Regions from separate parts of the Homo sapiens genome. Here region 2 is linked to region 1. The links are contacts of gene promoters, found by promoter capture Hi-C in blood cells and fetal thymus (Javierre and others, 2016). All regions are on one chromosome and are shown on one strand. Each heading gives the region's core, a stretch centred on a gene start or on the middle of the fragment in contact. The rest is flanking DNA. Distances are from core to core; before and after follow the strand shown. Region 1 holds the start of OXGR1 (oxoglutarate receptor 1). Region 2 has its middle 5.8 kb from the start of HS6ST3.

The links. The method cuts DNA at HindIII sites, captures the fragments that hold promoters and counts their contacts. A CHiCAGO score of 5 or more calls a contact.
Region 2: a contact is called between a fragment that was not itself captured here and the fragment with the promoter of OXGR1 in region 1, in 1 of 17 cell types (endothelial precursors). The highest score is 5.3, in endothelial precursors.

The regions. Positions count from the first base shown.
Region 1 is chr13:96,992,865-96,996,433 of GRCh38, reverse strand. It overlaps OXGR1 (oxoglutarate receptor 1), which reads left to right and starts at 1,958. Exons shown (of 4, transcript NM_001346194.2): 1 at 1,958-2,136. The HindIII fragment of the contact is 5,494 bases long and covers 1-3,569 here.
Region 2 is chr13:96,082,532-96,086,100 of GRCh38, reverse strand. No RefSeq gene overlaps it. Among named protein-coding and RNA genes, the nearest start is that of HS6ST3, 5.8 kb to the left of the region's middle. The HindIII fragment of the contact is 2,821 bases long and covers 630-3,450 here.

The DNA.
Region 1 (3,569 bases), core at 709-3,208:
TTGAAAAGTGAATACATAGGACTGAATTTTTTAAAACGTCAGTTTAAAAAATTATAGTAAAATACACGTAAAAATAAATGTACTATCTTAACCATACTGAAGTGTGGTTCAGTGGCATTATTATTGTGCAACAATATTGTTATGCAACCACCCCACCACCCATCCACAGAACTCTTTTCATCTACCAAAATTGAATTTCATACTCATTAAACAATAGCTCCTCATTCCCTCTCCCCACAATTCCTGGCAACCATTATTCTAATTTCTGTCTCCATAACTTTGACAACTCAGGCACCTCATATAAGCAGAATCGTACAGTATTTGTGCTTTTGTGGCTGGCTTCTTTTGTTTAGCATAATGTCCTCAGGGTTCCTCCATGTTGCAGTATGTGTCAGAATTTCCTTCATTTTTAAAACTGAATAATGTTCCATGGAATGTATACATCACATTTTCTTCATCCATTGATAGGCACTTGGGCTGCATCCACATTTTGGCTATTGTGAATAATGCTGCTATGAACATGGGTGTGCAAGTATCCGTTTGAGTCTCAGCTTTCAATTCTTTGGGGTATATTCCCAGAAGCAGAATTGCTGGCTTGTGTCATAATTCTATTTTTAATTTTTAGAGGAACCATTATACTTTTTTTTTTCCATAGCACCTGCACAATTTTAACTTTACAGGACTGGATATTTTTAAATGTCCTTTCCATGTCTAGAGTTCTAGGACCCAGTACTTGTTTTTCAAATAACCTCTTTAAGTCATTTCCTCGTTAGCTGGAAATCCTGCTCACCATGGAAAAACACTGGGATGTCTTTTACTTCAGAAAGCCTTCATTTGGGTTTAGTCCCCTCCCAGCCCCTTATTTACAAGTGGCAAGCCCTAATCATGTTTTTAATTTATTTCTTGTTTTCCTATAAGACATCAGCTCCTGGAAGCAAAGATTATGTATTATTCTTCAATATCTCCACGGTGCTTGACACAGAATAATCAAACAGCAAATGTCTGATCAATGCATAGGTGGGAACAAAACAGGGTCAACTATTTCCAGATGAAGAATTGAAAAAATGATTAAACATAGTAAAATTAGAGAACATTTTTTCTCCTAATGCAAAATATTTTCCTGGAGAGGCTGGAATTCAAATAATCAAAATGATAAGCATGATAATAAAAATGCCTAACTAGGGCTATCCCAACCATCAGCCAGGGCGGAATCTTTCCACCTGGGCCCTGGTGGGACACCTAACCTAACATTCTTGCTCCTGCTGGCTGGCATTCCCAGAGGATGGGCTATACATGGTGTTTGATGCCCATCAACATGGAAGTGCAGAAGAGACATTCAATGCCCGTCCATGGAAGAGCGAAGAGGGGCATTCTCCAAGCACCCCCATTCGCTAATACAGTGAACTCTTTGATGCTGGAAGAGATCTTGAAGTTCAACGGTTCGGGAGGCGCTAGTATACTGGACGATGTGGCTGAGGTTCAGAGAAGAGAAAAGGCGAATCCTAAGTTATGTAGCAAGAAGGCAACCTACTCCCTAGATCTGGAGATACAGACAAACGCTCTTTGCAGGGATAGAAACTATTTTTAAGCCACCTTGCTAAGCGCTGGAGGGCAGGGTTGTAATTGGATACAGGGAAATGACAACGCTTCAGTAAGTCGCCTCCATCCCACGCTAAATAAGAGGCACTGGACGCCTGGGCGACAGAGCGAGACTCCTTCTCAAAAGAAAAAAAAAAAAAAGAGGCACTGGGCTGTAGGAGAGTGGTGAAATTTCTGGACCAAGACAAGGCGGCCACAACCCTCCTGGGGCAACAACCCTCCCGCCGGGCTGGTTTTTTGGAACCTCTGCAAACACTTTCTCCTGGGTCAGTTTCCCGCCAAACCGGGATGGAGGATGTCCAGAGGTCCCGGGAGTGGAAGCCGCTGTCCCTGTGTCTACTGGGAAGTGGGCGAGGCGGGATGCTGCTGGCCAGGCTGCTCGGGGCGAGGACCCGAGAACACGCACTTGCTCGCTGGGCCTCGGAGGGGTGGGAGGGGCGGGGCGGTGCGCAGCCTCCCCGGGACAGGTCTGCGGTCCGGGACCAACTAGGCTGCACAGGCACGCTGGGCGCATGTCCGCCTCGCCGGGGCTGCCAGGTGAGCCGCGCGTGATCGGGGAGCGGGGCCCACCGGCCGGAGGGAGCGGGTATAGGGGACCCTGCCCTGACCCGGAGGGAGACGGGAGGTGCCCGAGGAGCAGGGGAAAGAGCACCCCCGCACGTCCCTGCAGCAGGCAGGGTCGGACGGAGCAGCGCCCCCTTCTTCTCTGGAGGCAGCAGGAGCACCCCAGATCCTGTGGCGGGAGGCGAAGTTTCATTTTAGGGAACAAAAAGCCCAGGGCGAGAAGACATTTGACTTGGAGAGAACTGGGGGAGTTAGGGATCTCTGATTTCATCTCACACTTTTTTTCACACCCAAGTGAGGGGTCTGGGAGGTGGGCAGGGAGAGTGCTTAGGAGACAAACAGAGTTAATCCCTCACCCCATTGATCACCGCCCTGCTGAATGTTCTCAAAGCTCACCCTGCATCGTGGTGGACTGTGTGGTGTTGGAAACGACCAAAGACTCTGCCCCACCCCCACCCCCAACAAGCGAGGAAAATGTTTCCCCTGAAATGTCTTTCTTCTCTGTCTTGTTTTTTGTTTCGTTGCTATGGATTCGTGAACTAGCTTGTAATGGTCTCTAAACCTCTAACTTGTATGTATAATATTTGCGTGTCCATGCATGCATTTTTCTGAAGCGAGCTCTCAGAAGTTGTATTTGTTTCTCCCGAAGAATAAATAGGCAAAACCATATCTTTGGGCTGCATCAACATGACCTCTTAATAGTCTTCAGGGAAACTGAGTTGCAGATTCTTATTTAACGAATTGGGGATTGGCCGGGTGTGTGGCTCACGTCTGTAATCCCAGCACTTTGGGAGGCTGAGGCAGGTGGATCACCTGAGGTCAGTAGTTCGAGACCAGCCTGGCCAACAGGCTGGTGAAACCCTGTCTCTATACAAATACAAAAAATTAGCCAGACGTGGTGGAACGGGCCTGTAATCCCAGCCACTCCGAGGCTGAGGCAGGAGGATCCCTTGAACCCAGGAGGTGGAGGTTGAAGTGCGCCAAGATCATGGCCACTGCACTCCAGTCTGGGCGACAGAGCAAGATTTCGTCTCCAAAACAACAACAACAATAATAACACAAACAAACAAAAAACAATAAAGTGGGGATTGAGGGAAGAGCCTTGAGGCTCCCAGAAGGGTTGGGGAGAAAGATTCCTTCAGGGACCAGGGAGGACAGCACTTACCCAGTCACAAATTTACCTGTTTTAAGAATTGGTCTCTTTTCCACCAGTATGAAGTACAATTAGTTTTCAAATATGTAGACTGGGAAATCGAAGTAAGTCTTTGTGAATGAAAGGTCTACTTAAGTTTCTTTTTGACAACCCAAAGTGACCCCAGCTTTGGAGCTTCCAAGGACTCTGGAGAGAAGGTAACAGATTAAGTGTTCCAACTGTGCACCTCCCTCGTCCATTGGCATCTTGGGAA
Region 2 (3,569 bases), core at 791-3,290, 910 kb after region 1:
GTAAAAGGAAAAACACAGAAGCAGGAAAACTGGTTAAGTGGCTATTCCAGTAATCATGTGAGATTGATGGTGGCCCAGACCAAGACAGGGTGGTTACAGAGGTGGTTGGAAGAGATCAGATTGCCTGCATTTTCAAGACAGAGCCATCAGAGAGAGTTTCCATACAGATTGAATGTGGGATAAAAGAGGAAGGGAGGAGTCAAAGATGATGCCAAAGTTTGGGGCCTAAACAACTGAAAGGATGGAGTTGTCATCAAAAGGGATGTCAACTGAGATCATTACAAGTGCTAAGAGGGGACATAGCAGGGTGATATGACAAAGAATTCATGGCAGGGTTGAGGGTATGGGGCAGGCCTTTCCACTGGAGAGTCAGAAAAGACTGTTGTTACATAGAGGCAAAGGGGCTAAGTCCTGAAGGATTAGAATGGTCTAGCCGTGCCAGACATCCTGGAGAAGAGCTTTCTAAGCAGAACAATAAGCACAAAGGTCTGGAGCAGAAAAGAATTTAGGGGGCTCCAGACAGACAAATGATAGAGAAATGAAAGAGAGGGAGGTTTGGGGTCAGAGCCATGATAGTGGGTGCAAAGTAGTCATTGAGGAAATGACAGGACTGATTGATACTAAAAGCTTACTGGGATCCATGAAGAATGGATTAGGAAAGACAAAAGAGAAAGCAGAGAAATCAGTTAGGAAGTGGCTGTTGTTCTCCAGGCAAGAGATGGTGGGGACTTGGGATAGGCTGGCAATGGTGGGGAAAATAATTTACAGACACAAGTCCACGGGCCTAGTATGGAAAGATTTCACTTCTTCATTTTCAAATAACAAAATGAGACTTTGCCTTTAAGATTCTATTGCCTGATACAGAGGGAAATGAGAAGCATTCAACTTACGTTAATTCAGTCACTTCTGAGTTAACCTCTGTATCTTTGGAATAAATAGTCAAATTCATGTTTCTCCCCTCCCCTTCTTCTTTGCTTTTTCCTGCAGTGAGCTAAGCCCTTTCGTACTGGCTAAGGGAATTGTGGTCTGCAGGGGAGTTTCCTTTTCCTGCTGCTCCCCCTCACCCCCTCCATGTGCAGTTATTCCTACCTGATCGCAGGTGCAAGCCTGGATTTCTGCTGGGTCTTCTGCTGCCTTGTTAGAATCTAAGCTGTCATGTCCACATGCTCTACATCTTCCTCCACTGAACTGCGAGCCCACTTCTGTCTGCCACCTCAGCTCTTCTGTGGCCCTTTCTCAAGGGCCTGTTAGCATGGAAACCAGTGATGTTTAACCCCATCAGATGGAGCACTCATTTTTATTAAACAAATGTTTTGAAGTAATCCCTTTAATGATCTCAAGTTAAGCATCATAGATAATAGAATCTACCTACACACAATTTCTCAGAAATTAACATAATGCTCTAATTGTAATGTAAATGAAACATGAAAAGAAAGTAATTAATAAAACACTGTGTATTGCAACGTGTAAATGCTGAGACCTGACTACTGTAGACAACATAAAGAAGTTCGCAGATGCTTATGACTTTTAACTATCTCAAGTTTGGACATAGAGAAGTAAGAGCACAAGACATTCTTTTCAAGAAGCAAATAAAAGAGCAAGGCGCCTGTAGTCCCAGCTACTCAGGAGGCTGAGGCAGGAGAATGGCGTGAACCCCCGGGGGCGGAGCCTGCAGTGAGCCGAGATCGCGCCACTGCACTCCAACCTGGGCGACAGCGAGACTCCGTCTCAAAAAAAAAAAAAAAAAAATTGCAGAGGTGTTTGTGGACACCAGAATTAAAATTAGTGATAGGCTAAGTAAGAATAATTCTGACTTAAAAATTGACATATAAGAAAAAGGAGAGAAAAACCTTGGTTGAAGCAATCACACACCCAGACAAATTATAGACTTTTAGAGTGAAGAAATTGGGGAAGTATAATGTTCCCCAATTAACTAGGCTTTTAAAAAAATGTCTGGTCAAAATACTTCTCTATAACATAAAATATCTCGGTGGAACCCCGTCTCTACTAAATATACAAAAAATTAGCCGCGCGTGGTGGCGGGCGCCTGTATTCCCAGCTACTTGGGAGGCTGAGGCAGGAGAATGGCGTGTACCCAGGGGGCGGAGCTTGCAGTGAGCCTAGATCGTGCCACTGCACTCCAGCCTGGGCAACACAGCAAGACTCCGTCTCAAAAAAATAAAAATAAAAATAAAATAAATAAAATAAAATATCTCAAAAAACATAACTTGTATCTTGAAATCCTACTATACATCAAAGGATAATCCAGTTTCTGAATGTAGGGCGATATTTGCAAGTCACGTGAATGCAAGACAATTCTATCATTGCCCCCACCAAATAAATGCCAGTAATAAATAAATCATCGTGAGGTGCTGACCAAACACCAAACTGCAGACTATAAACTCTTTCCTAGCCATTAATTCCACTCCTAACGAGTATCTAGAAATCCCCCTATCTTTCCTCTGTCAAAAAAAAAAAAGCCAGTTTAGAAGACATAAAAAGACTAGGAACACACGTTTCCTCACTGTCCTTATACTTTGGCTCTTGATAGTAAAGGCACATTTTAGAATTTTTAAATGATGCCATTTTTTTCCCTTTGAAAAGTCTGATTTTGAAACCATTTGAAATCAAGGTAACATAGTAAGTGATAGTACTCAGATTTGAACCAGGTAGTCTGATTCCAGAGGTGGAAAGAAGTGATGGCAAGATGGATGTTAGAAGTCAAATCAACAGGATTTACTGAAAGATTGAATAAGAGGAAGTGAACAATGGATGAATCAAAGATGTTTCTCGGGGTGTCTCTTGAGCTCCTGGAAGCCTGATAGTTCCATTTACTAAAAAGAAGAAAATGAGAGAGAAAAAGTTAGGAGGTGTTGAGGGTGGGGAGCAGCGAGGGCGAATTTTGAGTTCTGCTTTAGGTGAGCTAGGTTTAGACTGCTAATGAGACAGCTAAATGGAGATATCAAATAAATAGCTGGATATAGGATCTAGAGTTCATGCAGTAATTCTAGACAGGAGATTAAAATGTGGTGGTTTTAATAACATAGGTAACATAATAGCAGTGAGTGCTCAATAAATATTTGTTGACAGAATCTGTAAAAGACTAAATAAGCAATTACCATGGTCCAAGAGAGAAATGAGACCTCAAACAAAAGGAATAGCAATGGAACAGAAGTGTACACATTTGAGAAATATTCCAAAGGTAGAAACAATAGGATTCAGTGACTAAGTAGGAAGGGGTGAGAGAGGAAGAAATTGAGGATGACTCAAAGTGTGCTAGCTTGGAAAGCTAAGTGAATGGTAAGGTCATTAATATGGGAGGCAAAACAGATGACTGGGCATGAAAATCAGTGTAGATGACTATTCTTTCTCTTAGCAAACTAGAATGTTTGTGTTTTTCAAATGGCTTTGAGCTTCAAAATGTTTACTTACATTTTAAGAAAGCAAGCTTTAAAAATACACTTTAATTTGTCTGCAGCAAGACAGATAACTTTAGTTTAATTATTACCTTTGGAAAAAAAATCCTAGGTGGAAACACATTTGGTAAAAACTGTTTTCTCTTTCCTAAT